Regions from separate parts of the Homo sapiens genome. Here regions 2 and 3 are each linked to region 1. Evidence: promoter capture Hi-C in human tissues and cell types (Jung and others, 2019). All regions are on one chromosome and are shown on one strand. Each heading gives the region's core, a stretch centred on a gene start or on the middle of the fragment in contact. The rest is flanking DNA. Distances are from core to core; before and after follow the strand shown. Region 1 holds the start of ABHD16B (abhydrolase domain containing 16B). Region 2 overlaps GMEB2 (glucocorticoid modulatory element binding protein 2). Region 3 overlaps RTEL1 (regulator of telomere elongation helicase 1).

Region 1 (2,624 bases), core at 83-2,582:
TCTCAAGCAGAAGTTGGAACATACTTATACCCAAAAAGTATTTGTTTATTTGTAATTCCAATTTAACTGGCATATTATTCTGTATTTTATCTGGCAACCTAGAATGGGGGTAATAGCCCCCCAAATCGCTCCCTTTGTTAATTGGTCCCTGTCTTCTGTCCCCCAACCCCTAAAGGCAGCAGCTGACTCCCCCAACTAGGGGCGGGGCCTGTTAGGGTCAGGCAGTGCCTCTAACCCAGACGCTGAGCAGGAGAGCAGAGAGGGGGTGCTTCAGCCTGAAACTACCCCTTCCCCAGAAGGCTGGGGTCCCAGGCGGGCCTGGCACCTGGGCTCAGAGGCTCTGGCTGGATTTGCCAAACTCCCTGATTGTAGCATGTTTGTTTCTGGTCTGGGGAGCTGTTGAGTACCTGGAGCTGCCCTCTTCCCTGGGGCTCCTCCTGGCAGGCGGCTTCCGACCCTGCCCTCAGGTGGGCTGGCCCTTTCCAGGGCAGGAGAAAAGATACCTCTCCAGAAAAGAGGGAGGCGCAGCCTGGGAGTGGGGGCTCGACCCAGGAGCGAGAAAGAGGAACCCCAGCCAGGCAGGACCCGCCCCAGAAGGTCACTGCTGTTGCTGGCAGCCAGTGAAAAGAGGATCCAGAAAAGGAGAGGGCTTGTTTCTGGTCAGCACCGAAGAAGGAAGGTGTGGAGAGGAGGGGCCGGGCCGAGAGCAAATACCGCCTTTTTGGTGCAGCAGCAGCCCTGTCTCTGACCCCGGCCGTCCTGGGGAGATGAGGTTTAAACCAGCAGACCCTGAAGGGAAACTTGCAGGACCCACAGCAAGCCTGGTACAGGCGGAGGAGGCCTTGCTGTCCCTTTTTGGCCCGTGGGGCTGTCCATCTTAAATTTAAGGAAGAGGGAGGCGGGGTGCAGGGACTCACACCTGTAATCCCAACACTGTGGGAGGTGGAGGCGGGGTGCAGGGACTCACACCTGTAATCCCAACACTGTGGGAGGTGGAGGCGGGAGGATCGCTTGAGCCCAGGGGTTCAAGACCAGCCTAGGCAGCATAGTGAGACCCCATCTCAATTTAATAAATAAATAAGGAAGAAAGAGGGAGACAGTAGCTGCTCAAATCATGGGTGGGAAAGCTGGGCCTGGGAGCGTTTAGCTGGTGGGGTCTTGGCGAAGGCGGGGGACGGGCAGAACCTTGGGTTCATCATCTCTGGGAACCCTTTGTGCACCCATCACCTAGCAACAGGATGCAGCCTTCCCTCCGCCCTGGAAGGCCAGGTCACAAAGGCCATCAGGGCTTGTCCGGGAGCCGGTATCCCCTAAGACTGCCCTGTGCCTCTCGCGGCGATCCCGGCCCAGCGGCTGGGCGTTAGGGCCACCGCTCATGTGCGTCATCTGCTTCGTGAAGGCGCTGGTGCGCGTGTTCAAGATCTACCTGACCGCCAGCTACACCTACCCATTCCGCGGCTGGCCCGTGGCCTTCCGCTGGGATGACGTGCGCGCCGTGGGCCGGAGCAGCAGCCACCGGGCGCTGACCTGCGCGGCAGCCGCGGCGGGCGTGTGGTTGCTGCGGGACGAGACGCTGGGCGGGGATGCGCTGGGGCGGCCTCCACGTGGGGCGCGCAGCCAGGCGCAGTGCCTCTTGCAGCAGCTCCGCGAGCTGCCCGGCCAGCTCGCTAGCTACGCGCTGGCCCACTCGCTGGGCCGCTGGCTCGTGTACCCCGGCTCCGTGTCCCTGATGACGCGCGCGCTGCTGCCGCTGCTGCAGCAGGGCCAAGAGCGCCTCGTGGAGCGCTACCACGGCCGGCGCGCCAAGCTGGTGGCCTGTGACGGCAACGAGATCGACACTATGTTCATGGACCGCCGCCAGCACCCGGGCAGCCACGTGCACGGGCCGCGCCTCGTCATCTGCTGCGAAGGCAACGCGGGCTTCTACGAGATGGGCTGTCTGTCTGCACCGCTCGAGGCCGGCTACTCCGTGCTGGGCTGGAACCACCCCGGCTTCGGCAGCAGCACTGGCGTGCCCTTCCCTCAGCACGACGCCAACGCCATGGACGTGGTGGTCGAGTACGCACTGCACCGCCTGCACTTCCCGCCCGCGCACCTGGTGGTCTACGGCTGGTCTGTTGGCGGCTTCACGGCCACCTGGGCCACCATGACCTACCCGGAGCTGGGTGCACTGGTGCTGGACGCCACCTTCGACGACCTTGTGCCGCTGGCGCTGAAGGTCATGCCCCACAGTTGGAAGGGGCTGGTGGTGCGCACCGTGCGCGAGCACTTCAACCTCAACGTGGCCGAGCAGCTGTGCTGCTACCCGGGGCCGGTGCTGCTGCTCCGACGCACGCAGGATGACGTGGTCAGCACTTCGGGCCGCCTGCGCCCCCTGTCACCTGGTGACGTGGAGGGCAACCGGGGCAATGAGCTGCTGCTGCGCCTGCTGGAGCACCGCTACCCCGTCGTGATGGCGCGAGAGGGCCGCGCCGTCGTCACCCGCTGGCTGCGCGCTGGCAGCTTGGCGCAGGAGGCCGCCTTCTATGCACGCTACCGCGTGGACGAGGACTGGTGCCTGGCGCTGCTGCGCTCCTACCGTGCACGCTGCGAAGAGGAGCTGGAGGGCGAGGAGGCCCTGGGGC
Region 2 (2,624 bases), core at 67-2,566, 250 kb before region 1:
AGCACTTGGTGATGTCGCTTGCGTCAATCAAGGCAACAGAAGTGAGCAGGAGGCCCACTTTCCTCTGCAACTGTGGGCTTACGGGGCAAAGAAGTCCAGGCCTCCAGGTGGAGGATCACAGACCGGGCAAAGCAGAGGAGAGCCACCCAGCCGAGCCTACCTGTGCCTCAGACTGCCTCCCTCCAGAGACCCCTGTGGCCAAGGCCACCCAGACCAGCAGGTCCTTGCCAAGCTGTCAGCTGACGACAGGGGTTGGTGAGGCCGGCCCAGACCAGCAGAACCACGAACCAACCAACAGAATTAAAAATAATAACAACTATGTCTTGTCTTAAGCCACTAAGTTTTGGATGGTTTCTTTCTTTCTTTTTCTTTTTTTTTTTCGGAGACGCAGTCTCACTCTGTTGCCCAGGCTGGAGTGCAGTGGCGCAATCTTGGCTCACTGCAAGCTCTGCCCCCCGGATTCACGCCATTCCCCTGCCTCAGCCTCCTGAGTAACTGGGACTACAGGTGCCTGCCATTGGGTGTTTTCTTAAACAGCAAAAGAAAACTGACACAATCATAAACAGAGCAAGCAAGAGAACTTGGCAATTATTTCCTCTCTACTTCTCACTGTTCTTCAAAGAGTTAACTCAAGCATAAGATGTGAGCAAATTCTTTTAACATCCTAGAAAAAAAGCTCCTACTCAGTGTTCATAAAGCAAAGCTAACCTACAGGAGCCACCTTCCACAGTGACCACAGGAAACCAAGACAGCAAGTGGGACACCAGCCTCCAGGGCACTGCGCCAGCCGTGCGCCTGTGTCTGCCACTGCCCTGGTCCGTCACTGCCACCAGCCGGCAAGACACCCACAGAGGAGAGCTCTAAGCCACAACTGTGTACGAAGACAACTGTGCAGGATTTTATTACTACAACATTTTTGTTTTCTTTTTTTTTTTTTTTTGAGACTGAGTCTCGCTCTGTCACCCAGGCTGGAGTGCAGTGGCACAATCTCGGCTCACTGTAACCTCCATCTCCCTGGTTCAAGCAATTCTCCTGCTGCAGCCTCCCAACTGGATTACAGGCGCCCGCCACCACGCCTGGCTAATTTTTGTACTTTTAGTAGAGACGGGGTTTCACCATGTTGGCCAGACTGGTCTCAAATTCCTGACAAGTGATCCACCCACCCTGGCCTCCCAAAGTGCTGGGATTACAGGTGTGAGCCACTGCGCCTGGCCCATTTTTGTTTATCAATAAAAATGTACTTAATGTTGAACTCTCCACATTTCAAATGGGTAACTCCAGTGTCCTTGATGCTCCTGCGACATGTTCGTGAGACTTCTCTTGGGTGTGAGAGTCTAGCATGTGGGTGGTCTGGACAGGAGGGGGAGGGAAGAGTGCAGAGCAGGGCAGGGTAAAGAGACCCCCTAGGATGTGAAGGCCGCCCTGCATTTGTCAGACTGGGCAACACCCACTCCATCAGATGGACCCTGGTATGGGCGGCAAGCCACCTAGGTGCCGAGGCAAGAGACCGAGGGCACGAGCTGTTCCGGTGTAATAAAATGCATAAAATAAGAATAGTTATACTAGATATAGATCATAAATATGATTATATATGAATATCATTCATCATTAGTTTGTAGCAATTACTCTTTATTCCAATATTATAATAATCCTTGCCTAAGCATAACCTAGGAAAAACTAGGAAATCATAACCTAGGAAAAACTAGGCCATACAGAGATAGGAGCTGAGGGGACATAGTGAGAACTGACCAGAAGACAAGAGTGCGAGCCTTCTGTTATGCCTGGACAGGGCCACCAGAGGGCTCCTTGGTCTAGCGGTAACGCCAGCATCTGGGAAGACGCCCGTTGCCAAGTGGACCGTGGTCTAGCGGTAGCCTCAGTGTCAAGGAAAAACACCCGCTACTTAGCAAACCAGGAAAGAGAGTCTCCCTTTCCCCGGGGGAGTTTAGAGAAGACTCTACTCCTCCACCTCTTGCGGAGGGCCTGACATCAGTCAGGCCCGCCCGCAGTTATCCGGAGGCCTAACCGTCTCCCTGTGATGCTGTGCTTCAGTGGTCACGCTCCTAGTCCGCCTTCATGTTCCATCCTGTGCACCTGGCTCTGCCTTCTAGATAGCAGCAGCAAATTAGTGAAAGTACTGAAAGTCTCTGATAAGCAGAAATAATGGCGTAAGCGGTCTCTCTCTCTCTCTCCTCTCTCTCTGCCTCAGCTGCCAGGAAGGGAAGGGCCCCCTGGCCAGTGGGCACGTGACCCACATGACCTTACCTATCACTGGACATGGTTCACACTCCTTACCCTGCCGCTTTGTCTTGTATCCAATAAATAGCGCAACCTGGCATTCGGGGCCGCTACCAGTCTCCGCGTCTTGGTGGTAGTGGTCCCCCAGGCCCAGCTGTCTTTTTCTTTTATCTTTGTCTTGTGTCTTTATTTCTACACTCTCTCATCTCCGCATACGAGGAGAAAACCCACCAACCCTGTGGGGCTGGTCCCTACACCCTGGCTTTGTAGACTGGAGCCTAGGCACGACTCAGCTGCTGTAGTGAATTGCGATCCTCCAAACCCAGCAAGGCACCTGCAGGACATCTGGCCCAGTCTCCTCGTTGAGCCAGTTCACGAAAAAGAGA
Region 3 (2,624 bases), core at 92-2,591, 190 kb before region 1:
ACGCCACGGGTCAATGGTTTGTGTGTTCACGTGACGATGGCGTGGTGACGTTTCCAGATCCCGTCGTTGGTTCGCTCATTCTCGGGGTGTATATTTATTGAGAGCTCATCATGCTGGGTGCTATTCCAGGCATAGCAAGACTGGCTTCACTCACATGGAGCTTTGATTCTAGTGGTGGGGACAGGTGGACAGCAAAAGAGTAAGCACGTGAGCTGATGATACTGAAGGGAAATAGAGCAGAGGGAGGAGGCGGAGACCGAGCCAAGCGGGCCCAAGTGCGATGTCGGCGGGAGGTGGGGAATGCTGGTGGGTCTGAGGGGAGCCTCAGCAGGTGCAGCAGAGCAAGGGAAGAGGTGAGTGGGGGCGGCTGGGGGGCCGACTCCTGGGAAGCTGTAGCAGAACCCCACAGAGAGCTGGTGAGGTTTGCCGTGGTTGTGGGTGACTCGGTGCTTTGAGCCCTGGCTGCCCCTGGGAACCATCTGGAGAGCTTCTAACCCAACCAGGCCCCTCCCTGGGACAGTTATATCACAGCTGGTAAGCCGAGTCTAACACTTTCACGGAAACGCAGAAGATCTAAAACAGCAAGATGACCGTGAAGAAGAACAGAGCTGGAGGACTCACCTCGCTGGTTTCAAGACTCCTCTAAAGCTGCAGGAGTGGAGGTGGAGATGGCCCAGCTCAGGCACAGGCCTGCAGGCCATGGAGAAGGCAGCAAGCTCAAGCTGACCCACACGCATGTGGTCATTGTTTTTTTTTTCAGTTGGAATCTCACTCTGTCACCCAGGTTGGAGTGCAGTGGCACCATCTCGGCTCACTGCAGCCCCCGCCCCTAGGTTCTAGCGATTCTCCCACATCAGCCTCCCGAGTAGCTGGGATTACAGGCGTGCGCCACCATGCCTGGCCCTTGGTGATTGTTTTTTGACAAACATGCCAATTTAATTGAGAGAGGAAATGAAGGTTGATTTCTGGTTTTCTGAAAAAATGGTGCTAAGAACAGCTGGATATCTGTTCGGAAAACAGTGAATCTTAACTCTTGTTTTACCCTGTATAAACCTAAATGTAAAAGCTAAACTAAAAGTTATAGAAAGGAACATGGGGGAGGTCTTTGCAACTTTGGGGTAGGCAGAGATTTCTTAGTATGGATACACAAGGCACTAGCCATGAAGAAAAACATTAAAATTTAGACTTCACCAAAATTTAAAGCTTCAACTCTGTGGAAGAGTTGAGAAAATGAAAAAGCAGTTAAAGAAAGGGAGAAAATACTTCTTTCAAAGGACTTAAAAAATTTTTTCAGCCCTCCTCTGATTTGAAAGGACCTTTGACCAGAGTATGTAAAATTCTCCCATAACTAAGCAAACAACCCACTTAACCACTGGGAAGGGATCTGGACAGACGTTTCACCAAGATGGGTGGAATGGCCAGTTAACCACTGGGAGAGCATCCGGACAGACGTTTCGCCAAGATGGGTGGAATGGCCAGTTAACCACTGGGAGAGCATCCGGACAGACGTTTCGCCAAGATGGGTGGAATGGCCAGTTAACCACTGGGAGAGCATCCGGACAGACGTTTCGCCAAGATGGGTGGAATGGCCAGTTAACCACTGGGAGAGCATCCGGACAGACGTTTCGCCAAGATGGGTGGAATGGCCAGTTAACCACTGGGAGAGCATCCGGACAGACGTTTCGCCAAGATGGGTGGAATGGCCAGTTAACCACTGGGAGAGCATCCGGACAGACGTTTCGCCAAGATGGGTGGAATGGCCAGTTAACCACTGGGAGAGCATCCGGACAGACGTTTCGCCAAGATGGGTGGAATGGCCAGTTAACCACTGGGAGAGCATCCGGACAGACGTTTCGCCAAGATGGGTGGAATGGCCAGTTAACCACTGGGAGAGCATCCGGACAGACGTTTCGCCAAGATGGGTGGAATGGCCAGTTAACCACTGGGAGAGCATCCGGACAGACGTTTCGCCAAGATGGGTGGAATGGCCAGTTAACCACTGGGAGAGCATCCGGACAGACGTTTCGCCAAGATGGGTGGAATGGCCAGTTAACCACTGGGAGAGCATCCGGACAGACGTTTCGCCAAGATGGGTGGAATGGCCAGTTAACCACTGGGAGAGCATCCGGACAGACGTTTCGCCAAGATGGGTGGAATGGCCAGTTAACCACTGGGAGAGCATCCGGACAGACGTTTCACCAAGGTGGATGGAATGACCAGTTGAGCACATGGAAAGTCGCCCAGCATCTCCAGTCATAGGAGAAGGCAGATTAAAGCCACGGGGAGCCGACACTGTGGTCCCACTGGCATGGCTGAAATTCAGAAGCCCTGAGTGTGGCATGAGGATGTGGAACAGCTGGATCTCATCCATCGCTGTGAAGTTGTGTAGCCACTCCACAAACGTGTGGCAAACAGCCGAGCCGGGAGAAGGGAAGACGTGTTCAAAGATTCATATGTGGCCAGGCTCAGTGGCTCACGCCTGTAATCCCAGAACTTTAGGGGCCAAGGCTGGGGGATCGCTTAAGCCCAGGAGTTTGAGACCAGCCTAGGCAACATAGGGAGACCCCATCTCAAAAAAAAAAAAAAAGAAAAAAGAAAAGACTTCAGTGTGCAGGTTTACCAGA

The links. The method cuts DNA at HindIII sites, captures the fragments that hold promoters and counts their contacts. A contact is called where the count stands out against the background at its distance.
Region 2: a fragment that was not itself captured here is called in contact with the fragment with the promoter of ABHD16B in region 1 in 1 of the 25 tissues and cell types used here (dorsolateral prefrontal cortex).
Region 3: a fragment that was not itself captured here is called in contact with the fragment with the promoter of ABHD16B in region 1 in 4 of the 25 tissues and cell types used here (H1 embryonic stem cells, dorsolateral prefrontal cortex, lymphoblastoid cells and 1 more).

What each region holds. Positions count from the first base shown.
Region 1 is chr20:63,860,166-63,862,789 of GRCh38, forward strand. It overlaps ABHD16B (abhydrolase domain containing 16B), which reads left to right and starts at 1,333. Exons shown (of 1, transcript NM_080622.4): 1 at 1,333-2,624. The coding sequence starts at 1,376. It overlaps ABHD16B-AS1 (ABHD16B antisense RNA 1), which reads right to left. Exons shown (of 2, transcript NR_165314.1): 2 at 1,050-2,624. The HindIII fragment of the contact is 14,540 bases long and covers 1-2,624 here.
Region 2 is chr20:63,612,598-63,615,221 of GRCh38, forward strand. The region is part of intron 2 of GMEB2 (glucocorticoid modulatory element binding protein 2); the gene reads right to left. Among named protein-coding and RNA genes, the nearest start is that of GMEB2, 13 kb to the right of the region's middle. RefSeq lists an enhancer at 1,362-1,531. The HindIII fragment of the contact is 4,726 bases long and covers 1-2,624 here.
Region 3 is chr20:63,668,245-63,670,868 of GRCh38, forward strand. All of the region lies in intron 8 of RTEL1 (regulator of telomere elongation helicase 1), which reads left to right. The region is part of intron 8 of RTEL1-TNFRSF6B (RTEL1-TNFRSF6B readthrough (NMD candidate)); the gene reads left to right. Among named protein-coding and RNA genes, the nearest start is that of RTEL1, 11 kb to the left of the region's middle. The HindIII fragment of the contact is 4,863 bases long and covers 1-2,624 here.